Regions from separate parts of the Homo sapiens genome. Here region 1 is linked to region 2. Evidence: promoter capture Hi-C in 16 types of primary human blood cells and fetal thymus (Javierre and others, 2016). All regions are on one chromosome and are shown on one strand. The core of a region is centred on a gene start or on the middle of the fragment in contact, and the rest is flanking DNA. Distances in the headings are between cores, read along the strand shown.

The links. Contacts are between HindIII fragments. The CHiCAGO score rates a contact against its expected background, and 5 or more counts as called.
Region 1: a fragment that was not itself captured here is called in contact with the fragment with the promoter of FZD5 in region 2 in 2 of 17 cell types (M1 macrophages and M2 macrophages); the score reaches 5.7 in M1 macrophages.

What each region holds. Positions count from the first base shown.
Region 1 is chr2:207,836,672-207,842,590 of GRCh38, forward strand. The region is part of intron 7 of PLEKHM3 (pleckstrin homology domain containing M3); the gene reads right to left. Among named protein-coding and RNA genes, the nearest start is that of FZD5, 70 kb to the left of the region's middle. The HindIII fragment of the contact is 4,522 bases long and covers 1,754-5,919 here.
Region 2 is chr2:207,768,656-207,774,592 of GRCh38, forward strand. FZD5 (frizzled class receptor 5) reads right to left here and starts at 1,251. Exons shown (of 2, transcript NM_003468.4): 1 at 610-1,251; 2 at 1-339. The coding sequence starts at 84. RefSeq lists silencers at 2-61, 472-531, 872-1,551, 3,608-4,083 and enhancers at 2,102-2,151, 2,316-3,136. The HindIII fragment of the contact is 9,976 bases long and covers 1-5,937 here.

The sequences.
Region 1 (5,919 bases), core at 2,765-5,264, 71 kb after region 2:
TCCAGATTCTAGCTGCACACAGGGAGGTCACAGGAAACTGCTAAAGGCCGCTGCCCCGAGTTGAGGTCACTGAAATGCTTCTGCTGTGTTCATGTTGGGTTCTTCTCCTGCTGCATTTTTATTTTTGGCTCAGGCAATGGCCTCAGATATTTCACTTGGATTGAAATTCAGGCTTCAGTTTGGTTGCATCTCTGACAAGCAAAAGGACAGGCCTGCAGAGCAGGGCAGAGCCTTGGCTGGTTTCCACTCTGCAGAGCCCACAACGAATGGGGTGGGGCTCAGAAATAAGTGCACGTTATCAGGCATGTGAGTGCGGCTTTGCGTATGGCTACTATGCAACGCCCCCCATACAGCCACTAGCTATTACTGGTTTTTCCAAAAAACCAAGATTACTTAAATCTCTTAGCTAAGGAGGGTAGTTACTGGATCCTGGTTATTTAAATGTTTTGGGTTGGTGTTTTATTTGTTATTGTGTAAGTAAACATAAGCAAACAATTTGTAATTTGCTTGAATAGGAAATCAGCCAATATCATGTATAGTTTATGCTTCCATGTGAGCCTATATGCTATGCATGTACTTATAGACATACACAGGATACTAGACATTCTAAGGTAAAATGAATTAAATATGATTAATAGGATTAATTTAGCTGTGCCCAGCTAAATTAAGCCATAATTCCAGCACTTTGGGAGGCTGAAGCAGGCAGATTGCCTAAGGTCAGGAGTTTGAGACCAGCCTGGCCAACACGGTGAAACCCCGTGTCTACTAAAAATACAAAAATTAGCTGGCATGGTGGCTAATGCCTGTAGTCCCGGCTACTTGGGAGCCTGAGGCAGGAGAATTGCTTGAACCTGGGAGGCAGAGGTGGCAGTGAGCTGAGATCGCACCACTGCACTCCAGCCTGGGCGACAGAGCGACACTTCATCTCAATAAAATAAAATAAAATTACAATAGTTCTCCCTTTTTTTTTTTTTTTTTTTGAGATGGAGTCAGGCTGGTCTTGTTCTCCTGACCTCGTGATCTGCCCACCTCGGCCTCCCAAAGTGCTGGGATTACAGCTGTGAGCCACGGCGCCTGGCCGGTTCTTCCATTTTTTTTTTTTTTTTTTTTTTTTTTTGAGATTAAGTCTTGCTCTGTTGCCCAGGCTGGAGGGCAGTGGTGCGATCTCAGCTCACTGCAACCTCCATATCCCGGGTTCAAGCGATTCTCCTGCCTCAGCCTCCCGAGTAGCTGGGATTACAGGCACCCACCACCACGCCCGGCTAATTTTTTGTATTTTTAGTAGAGATGGGGTTTCTCCATGTTGGTCAGACTGGTCTCAACCTCCCAACATCAGGTGATCCGCCCGCCTCGGCCTCCCAAAGTGCTGGGATTACAGGCGTGAGCCACCGCGCCCGGCCTCGAGTTCTCCCATTTTTATTAAGTCAGTCAGTAAGAAAATAATAGATATAATATAATATAATAACTGGAGGTTTATCTGGTTCCAGAGCTAGTAAGCCTATTTGATTCCAGGGTTCTCATGTGAATGTGGCCCCTTTTCTATTACTAGCAACTTGGTCCTTTAAGTTAACACATGCCCAGATACCTGCTAAGACCCAAATCTGGGAAGAACAATTGGTATGTCCTGCAATGCTCTTTTTATCTACACTTTAAGCCCCAGAGTTAATTAAGGAGAGGTTTTCCCTGATGGCAGCCCACAAAGCATTTGCACTTTTAGTTTGTAAACCAAGTTCAGCTAAATACCTTTGACAAAAGCTTTACTTAAATCTTGGCTTTAAAATAGAATGTAAATAAGGGTTAATTAATTCATTTGTTAATTTTGCTACCCTACTGGGGACATTAACTCACTGCCATCTTTTGTGCAAACACTTAATCAGTGCTTCTTGCTAACTTGTGGATGGTGACTGAACTTCTCAGTTATATTCTAAGTATGTGTATAAAATTATAATAGATTTGACCTTGATGAAACAGTTTTCTTGGGATAGGGAAAATGGATATTTCTGATGCTTCTAAGTTTTTATTTTAAGGTTCATCTGGTAATTAATATAATTCTCGAGAAACAAATACCCACCTTGGTATTTAGGAAAAATCTGTTTAATATTAGACAAAGTAAAGGAACTGACGGAGGATTTAAACATTTCTACCATTTCTGGGAAAAAGCTACACTGTATTATAATTGTAGCCATAGAGAACTATAAACAAGATAAATGGTTTTCTGTAGAAATTCCTAAAGTAGTTTAAAATGCCTAAGAGCCAAAGGGGTGTTTAGAATTATCTTGCTACATCTAAGATGAAGGGAGTGAATACGAGATTATTAGGCGAATGCAGATTCAAACAAATGATCTTGGTTTATATATGAACTTCTCATGATTTACCAGTCTACCTTCTTAATGTAAAATTGAAACATTTACCTGCCAAGTTTTTGAAGTAAGCCTTTTAAAAAGAAATAATAATGTAACAGGAAGATACGCACCTAAGACTCTGAATGGGACTCACTTGTATTTAACACATGACATTTCAGTTCCTCAAAGGACTAAGACACTAAGTACAACCAAAATGAAAAAAAGGTCAAGCATGGGTACATTAGAAAATGCACATTAATGTACATGAATCTAATGTACATTAGAAAATGCACATTAATGTACATTAACCTAATGTACATTAGAAAATGCAAAAAGTCTAGAAGATAAGCCCTATCTAACTTTATGAGCAGTGTGATTAGTTGCTTATGAATAAGTTACTGGTTATTGATGTAAATTTAGGAGAAAGGCATTTAAATAAAAGACCTAAAGTGTTTTGCCATTACTTTAGATTATTCTCCTATTTGTCTCTCTAAGACAATGCTCTTCAAAGATGGTAACCATAATTTTCCAATACTCAATTTATTCTAGGCTGGTGGTGCTCAAAGTGTGGTCCCTGGACCAAATGTGATGCAGCCAAGCCAGCATCACTAGAGAATTTGTTAGAAAGGCTAATTAGTGGCCAGCACAGTGCCTCACACCTGTAATTCCAGCACTTTTGAGAGGCTGAGGCAGGATGATCCTGCCCAGGAGTTCAGGACCTGGGCAACATAGGGAGATCCCATCTCTACAAAAACAGAAAAAAATTAGCTGGGTATGGTAGTACACACCTACGGTCCCAGCTACTGGGGAGGCTGAAGTAGGAAGATTGCTTGAGACTGGGAGGTCAAGGCTGCCGTGAGCCGTGATGGTGCCACTACATTTCAGCCTGGGCAACAGAGTGAGACCCTGTCTCTAAATAAATAAATAAATAAAATAAAGGCTAATTATTGGGTCTCCCTCTAGACTTAGTGAATCATAAACTCTGGGCTGGGGCCCAGCAATCTGTGTTTTAACAAGTCCTCCTGGGAATTCTGATGAACACAGAAGTTTGAGAACTATACTTCTAAGTCAATCATTGCTAAAGACAGCAGGGCTCTTATTTTTCATATAATATATTTAAAACAAAAATATGGACTTTGCAAAACGAAAATAGGAGGTGATATTAACTAATGTGGGTTTTGTTTTTTGTTTTAGAGACAGGGTCTTGCTGTTGCCCAGGCTGGAGTGCAAGTGTGATCATAGTTCACTGCAGCCTCAAACTGCTGGACTCAAGGGATCCTCCCACCTCAGCCTCCCAAGTATTAACAGCTAGGACTACAAGTGTGTGCCACCATGACTGGCTAATTAAAAAAACCATTGTTTTTGCAGAGACAAGTTTCTGCTATGTTGCCCAGGCTGGTCTCAAACTCCTGGCCTCAATGGATCTCCTGCCTTGGCCTCCCCATGTGTTGTGATAACAGGTGTGAGCCACCATGCCCAGCCAACTAGTGTTTTTATATAGGGCTTTTCACATCTATTAATATCTTCTCATAACTAATAGGTTAAAATCTAATTTTGCTTTAATTGTAATATGGAGTTGTTCATGTAGTTTTTGGCCATTTGCATATTCTTTCAGTAAATTGGTTCATGTCCTCTGCCCATTTTCTACTGATATTTTACTAATTTTTAAATATATCTTTCATATTAAGGAAATCAATACTTCGTCATGTGTTGAAATTATTTCTCCAAGTTTCCTGTTTATGTTTATCTTTACCTATAGAATTTTAAGCATTTAACACTTTTTATGTTTTTTTTTTTTTTTTTTTTTTTGAGACAGAGTCTCTGTCACCCAGGCTGGAGTGCAGTAGTGTGATCTCGGCTCACTGCCACCTCCGCCTCCTGGGTTCAAGTGATTCTCATGCCTTAGCCTCTCAGGTGGCTGGGATTACACGTGTGTGCCACCATGCTTGGCTAATTTTTATATTTTTAATTTTTAATTTTTATATTTTAAAGACAGGGTTTCACCATGTTGGCCAGGCAGGTCTCAAACTCCTGACCTCAAGTGATCCACCTGCTTTGGCTTCCCAAAGTGCTGGGATTACAGACGCCCGGACAACTCTTTACGTATTTAAAAGCATTTTGCTTCCATGGCTTAGAAAGTCCTTTCACACTTTAATATGATAAAAATAATAGACTGGGCGCGGTGGCTCACGCCTGTAATCCCAGCCCTTTGGGAGGCCGAGGTGGGCAGATCACGAGGTCAGGGGTTCAAGACCAGCCTGACCAACATGGTGAAACCCCATCTCTACTAAAAATACAAAAATCAGCCGGGCTTGGTGATGTTCACTTGTGATCCCAGCTATTTGGGAGGCTGAGGCGCGATAATCGCTTCAACCTGGGAGGCCGAGATCACGCCATTGCACTCCAGCCCGGGTGACACAGCGAGACTCCATCTCAAAAAAAAAAAAAAAAAAAAAAAAAAAAAAAAATATATATATATATATATATATATATATTCACCACCATTTCTTTCTAGTACATTTCTAGTACTCTGTGGGCTTTATTTATTTTACATTAAAATATTTGATCCACTTAGAATTTATCTTGATGTAAGGTGTATGGGCAGCATTATTTTTCTTTTTCCAAATGGCTAATTAGTTCCCAATTCCTAATATGGAATAATACTTTTTTTGTTCCACCAATTTGCTATGCCACCTTTACCATGTATTAAATTCCCATATTACTTGGGTCTATTTCCATACTTTCTGAATCTTTTTGACTCTTGTTCTAGTGATCTTTGTATCCTTATTCCCATTATATTGTTTTACAATACATTTTTATATCTGATAGAAACAGTCTCCCTTCATGTACATAAAACTTTGAGAAGTTAAATTCTATATAATTCTATATTAAATATACTAGGGAAGTTTACTGCCCCGATCTTTATTTTTATTTTTATTTTTGAGACGGAGTCTCTCTCTGTCACCCAGGCTGGAGTCCAGTGGTGTGATCACAGCTCACTGCAAGCTCCGCCTCCCGGGTTCAGGCCATTTTCCTGCCTCAGCCTCCCCAGTAGCTGGGACTATAGGCGCACGCCACCACGCCCAGCTAATTTTTTGTATTTTTAGTAGAGACGGGGTTTCACCGTGTTAGCCAGGATGGCCTCGATCTGACCTCGTGATCCGCCTGCCTCTGCCTCCCAAAGTGCTGGGATTACAGGCATGAGCCACCGCGCCTGGCCCCCATCTTTTTATTATAGTTTTATTTATAAGGTTTATTTAAAATGAGATGCACCTGTATAATAAACACCTCAGGTAGTTAAGAACTAATCCTGGCTTTAGATATTGGACGTTCTGAACATCTCAGATGCTTTTCATTTTTATATAAGGATAAAGGCATTGTACAAGTTTGGTGGGTTAAACTAATTAGACTGATTGTTTACATGTTTATAAAATTAGCAAACATGGTTCAATTGTTTAATAATGTATAAACTTTTAATAATTAAAATTACTCTACTTTGCATGAACCAAAGATGTATTACCTTGGAAAAATACTGCAATAATGCTTTCAGCCTGATATATATTAACATTGAAGGAGG
Region 2 (5,937 bases), core at 1-2,500:
GGACGCGGCGGCCGCCCGGCCCACCAGCTGCGCTAGGAGCAGCAGCAACAGCGAGGGCGGCGCGGATGGGTCAGGCCGAGCCATCGCCCCCTCCCTCCCCTCGCCTCCAGCAGCCCGCGAGGGACGCACACAGGCAGAGGAATCCGGGCCGGGGCTTCTCCCTCCGGCGTCTCGTGTGTGGCGCCGGGGCTGGCAACCTGTTGGTTGCTTTTTCCTTTAAAGAAAACCGTCCAAAGATAAACTGCTTCGGGAAGGCGCTGCCTCCGCTGGCAGCGCTCCGCTCCTCGCCGGATAGGGCTGGGGAGAGACGGTTAGGGCTCGGATTCCAGGGAAAGGACTCTTTAAAAAAGAAGGGGGAGAAGAAAGATTGCAACCACTCCCTGTTGGAGAGGCGTCAACAGTTCGGTCCCCGCGAGCTGTCTCCAAATCTCTTAAGTTAACCCCTTTCCTTTCCTCCCCGCTCCGCCTCCTGTAACCAAACTACCGACTCCCCCACCCTCTCTTTCCAAGCTGGGCCCTTCAGGCAGTGCCCGGAGACCAGAACCCTCAGCTTCCCGGAAAAGGGCACAGGAAACGGGAGAAGAACAGGGAGAAAGGGAAGGTTCTCACCTCCACGGATCCCGCCGAGAAGAGCAGACAGTCCCCAGCCAGCCTGGGTCCTCCGTCCCTGGGTCACTCCGCTGAGAAGCGCGACTCAGAGCCGGGCTGGCGCCCGGAAAGTTTAGCGACAGGCTGGGTACCCGTGGCAGCGGCACATGGCAGCAGGTGGGGGCGACTCAGAGTGGGGGGCGCCCCCAGAACAGGGGCGGCGCAGGCCGGTCACTCGCCCTCTCCTCCTCGGGAGCCCCCCGCATGATCCAGACGGAGCCGGGCAGGGGCAGGCCGTGCGTTCTCCCCGGGGCCGGGAGCCGGACGGAGGGCGAGCGCGCCTGGCAGCACCTGGGCGGGAGGAAGGCGGGAGGCGGGGGCCGTGGGACCCCGCCGCCTCACAGCACCGCGAGCAGCCGGCGCTGGCCAGGCCGGGACTGCATGGTGAGCGCCGGCCGCCGCGTCCCGCCCGCCGCTCGCCTCCTCCCCTGCAGGGGGCTCCGCGCTCCAGTGGACTCCTGGGGGCGGTGGCGACGCTCTCGGGACGTGCCCTGCTCGGCTCCTCCCCCGCGCTCTCGCACCCTTTCGCCCACCTCTGGCGAGCACGGAACCGCGCGCGGCGGCGACCACAGCGGACTCACGGCCGCAGGCTGGCTGCCCTCTCCCGCCCCGCCCGGGTCACCTGCTTCTAATGCCCGCCGGGAAGCCCCGCCCCGGCTCCGCCCCCTCAGGCCCGGGCGCGGTTGGTGGGCCGCCTCGCCAAGCTCTCCGCGCGTCCCCGCCCACTGCCCCGCGGGCTCGGCCTTTCCCCCGGCGCCCTCTGGCCCCGCCAGGAGCGGGCAGCCAAGGAGCGCTGACCAATCGCGGGCCTGGAGGAGATGGGGGCGGGGCGAATGCTAATCATGCCGCTCTGGGCACCCGGGCGGGAAGCCCTTGCCAGAAGTCCCTCCGGAGTTCTCTGCCCGCGCCCTGGGTGCAGGACTCGCTCCTGTAACTTCCTGGCTTATGCACCTTTGCTCCCAGGGCCCCTGCCCTTTCTGCCTGCAGCTAAGCGTCCTTACAGAGTTCAGTGCTTCTTTGAAAGAACTGCTCAAGGAATCACTCTTAGGCGTGGCTGTCTCCCTTCCGAGCTGTCTTGGAACTGTGTGAAAGAAGAGAGGATACTTACTGAGCCCTTTACTGTGTGCCCAACAAAGTGTTAATCGGTTACATCCTTTTTTTTTTTTTTTTTTTTTGAGACGAGTTGTTCTGTCTCCCAGGCTGGAGTGCAGTGGCGCGATCTCGGCTCACTGCAACCTCTGTCTCCCGGGTTCAAGCGATTATCCTGCCTCAGCCTCCTGCGTAGCTGGGATTACTGGCGCCCGCCACCACGCCCAGCTAATTTTTGTATTTTTGGTAGAGACGGGCTTTCACCATGTAAGGCTGTTCTCGAACTCCTGACACCGTGATCTGCCCGCCTCGGCCTCCCAAAATGCTGGGATTACAGGTGTGAGCCACCGCGCCCGGCCCGTTTACATCTTAAGACAAGATCTCACTCCTTACAACAATTCTGAGGCAGGTACTTCCTACAGGTGAAGAAACCGAGACTGAGACTTGGCCAAGGCAACCGAGCTAATCATAGTTCCCCCAAGAAAGGGCGACCTCGGCAAGCAAGTTCACCTCCGTATTCCGATCACCTGGCACATAGTAGCCGCCCAAATGGCAACCCTGGGATTCGAACCCAGGTAGTTGGTCAGCGGCACTCACCATCGTAGCCGCCCCTCCCCCCATACTATCGCAGCCTCCCTGGCTTCGACCTTTACTTTTGCATCTCTTAACAAAATCTTGTTGTGACAAGAAAATGGATTTCTTTCTGCCTTTAGAAGACCCAGAAAGATGTGAGTCCTTTATTGGTCGAGGTTTATAATCCCAGGCAGTTCCGAAGTCGCCCGCAGAGAGAAGCGATACCGACCCAGGGTTCTGTGCTGGGCAGGGCGCCGGCCTCCCCGTGCCCTTCCGTCCCCGGCTGCCTGCTGCTAAGCCGCGCACTTGCGCGCCGCGGGGGGTCGGAGGGCGCACCGATGGCGGGGACACGGCGGCGCTCTTCAGTTGCGCAATTATGCTACAAGTTTTAAATGTCCTAAAAATGCCTCTTTTCTATGTGTTGTAATTAGATTGGAAGACTGAGGTATTTAGCATACTTGAAATACATTCACACGCCTAGGAAGAGGGTTTAAATTTTTTCCTTCTCCCCAAACTTTTCCTTCCACTGGGCAAAGGGCGAAAATAGGCAAGAGGGCCTGGGGACACTTGAAGGGATAGGGACTGGACTAACTGGACTAGATCCAGATCAACCGCGGGTTACTGTCCATCTCCTGTGCTGGATCCCATTGGCACAGGTTGGAAGAATAAATTGCGGAAGTGCCACTCCCCTCCTGCGTATCAACAACGCTTTGTGGGCAATAATGAAGAACACGTGTGTTAATCCCAGCCTCCAAGTTAAAAAGGAACAAATATCAATCACTTCGCGGATATCAAAACTATTAATAAACGTTTAAAAGGCCGGGCGCCATAGCTCACGCCTGTAATCCTAACACTTTGGGAGGCTGAGGTGGGAGGATGGCTTGAACCCAGGAGTTTGCAGACCAGCCTGAGCAACATAGCAAGACCCCCAACTCTAAAATACATAATTAAATAAATGAATAAATATACCTTACATCTTTCTTTCTCTGGAATTCTACAGGTGTTCATATTTTATCTCTTGTGTTTTGGAATTACTTGCCACTCTGGGTCAGGAAGCATCCCAGGGTTGAAAATAGTGGGAGTTGAAAAGCTGTGGGCATAGCAGTGAGCAAGAAAGGGAAGCCCTCAGTGGAAAGTATGTGCAGACTATGAACATGCCAAGGGAGGCCCATCTCATTCTGTGCTCTTTATGCAACGTGTGTATTACTGGGGATGGACAAGTGTTGGCTAATAATAAAAATTATTTGAAGTTGGAGAATGTTAATCACTCACACTGGAATTTAGCCAGAATATTTGTGTTATTTCACACGGTTCTGTCAGAGGCATTTGAACCAGAGCGACTCCATCTTGGATAGGGACTGGGTAAAATAAGGCTGAGACCTACTGGGCTGCATTCCCAGGAGGTGAAGACATTCTAAGTCAACAGGGTGAGATAGGAGGTCAGCACAAGATACAGGCCATAAAGACCTTGCTGATAAAACAGGGCGCAGTAAAGAAGCCGGCAAAAACCCAGCAAAACCAAGATGGCCAGGAGAGTGACCTCTGGTCGTCCTCACTGCTTATTGTAACTTAATTATAATACATTAGCATGCTAAAAGACACTCCCACCAATGCCAAAGCAGTTTACATTTTACAGATGCCATGGCAACCGTCAGGAAGTTACCCTGTATGGTCTAAGAGGGGGAGGAACCCTCAGTTCCGGGAATTGCCCGCCCCTTTCCCGGAAACTCATGAATAATCCACCCTTTGTTTAGCATATGATCAAGAAATAACCATAAAAATGGGCAACCGGCGGCCCATGCCGCTGCTCTGTCTATGGAGTAGCCATTCTTTATTCCTTTCCTTCTTTTTTTTTTTTTTTTTTTTTTTTTTTGACAGTCTTGCTCTGACGCCCAGGCTGGAGTGCAGTGGGGGTGCAAGCTCGTCTCACTGCAACCTCTGCCTCCTAGGTTCAAGCAATTCTTGTGCCTCAGCCTCCCAGGAAGCTGGGATTACAGGCCTACGCCACAACACCCTGCTATTTTTTGCATTTTTAGTAGAGTCGGGGTTTCGCCATGTTCACCAGGCTGGTCTGGAACTCCTGGCCTCAAGTGATCCGCCCGCCTCGGTCGGACTCTCAAGGTGCTGGATTACAAGCATGAACCACCTCGCTCGGCCCTTTCTTACCAAACTTGCTTTCACTTTACTCTATGGATTCGCCCGGAATTCTTTCTTGCATGAGATCCAAAAACCCTCTCTTGGGGTCTGAATCAGGACCCTTTTCCAGTAAAGGTTCTGAAGAAAACAATGTTATCTACTGGTTTGTAAACCTTTTCTTCATCAACAGCAAAATCTTAATTTTACTTGGAGATCTCTAATAATAATAGTGATAGCAGAGAACTTTATGGAAAGAAACTTATTTCAGCTGGGCAAGGTGGCTCATGCCAGTAATTTCAACGCTTTGGGAAGCTGAGGCAGGAAGATCACTAGGGCCCAGGAGTTCAAGACGAGCCTTGGCAATATAGTGAGACCTCATCTCTAAAAAAAAAAAAAAAAAAAAAAAAAAGGAGAGAGCAAGACATTTTATATCGTATATGTTTTTGTATTGTATTGTGTTGCTTTTTGTCTATATTTTGAAGGCACTTTAAAATATGCTGGCTGTTTAACATGTATTAGGCAGGGTGCTAGACGTCGTTTAATCCTCAGATGAAGAAACTGGTGCTATAATGACTTTGATGACTTGCTTGAAGTTATTTATTTAGTCTATGGAGTCAAAAACTTTCACACACCGTGATGATGACAGTTCAGTAACAACATACTGTAAATGAAAATTGCTAAGAGAGTAGATTTTAAGTGTTCTCACCACACAAAAATAATGAAAAATATGTAGAGGTAATGCATATGTTAATTAGCTCAATTTACCCATTCTAGAATGTATACATATGTCAGAACATCATGTGGTACATCATAAATATATACAATTGTTATTTGTCAATTAAAAAATAAAATATCTCACAATTTTCACCTGAGTCATACTTTATTACCCAACAAACTAGAAAACACTGAATTTTTTTTTTTTTTTTTTGGTTGGGGGGACAGGGTCGTGCTCTGTCACCCAGGCTAGAATGCAGTGGCACGATCTTGGCTCACTGCAACCTCTGCCTCCTTGGCTCAAGTGATCCACCTCAGCCTTCTGAGTAGCTGGGACTACAGGCATGCATCACCATGCTCAGCTAATTTTTTAAAAACTTTTTGTAGAGACCAGGTCTCACTATGTTGCTGAAGCTGGTCTTGAACTCCTGGACTCAGGCAATCCTCCCACCTCAGCTTCCAGAAGTGCTAGGATTACATGTGTGAGCCACTGTGCCTGGCCAAATTTTTTTAAAGATGCAATGTTTAAGCATTTAGAACATTGTTAAGCATCCTTGTCTATTTATTCACTCATGTATCTGTCCATCTATCGATTAATCCATCCATTCGCCAAATGTCAAATTTCTGAGTTGAAGACACTACTGCCATACAAAACATAATTTGATGAAGCCAAACTCATGAAATTCAACTGGAATTATTGTCCAAATTGTGTTTATTAATTGATGAAAATACAAAGGATAATGCTAAATATTCCATCTAATAGGCGTGTGACATTCC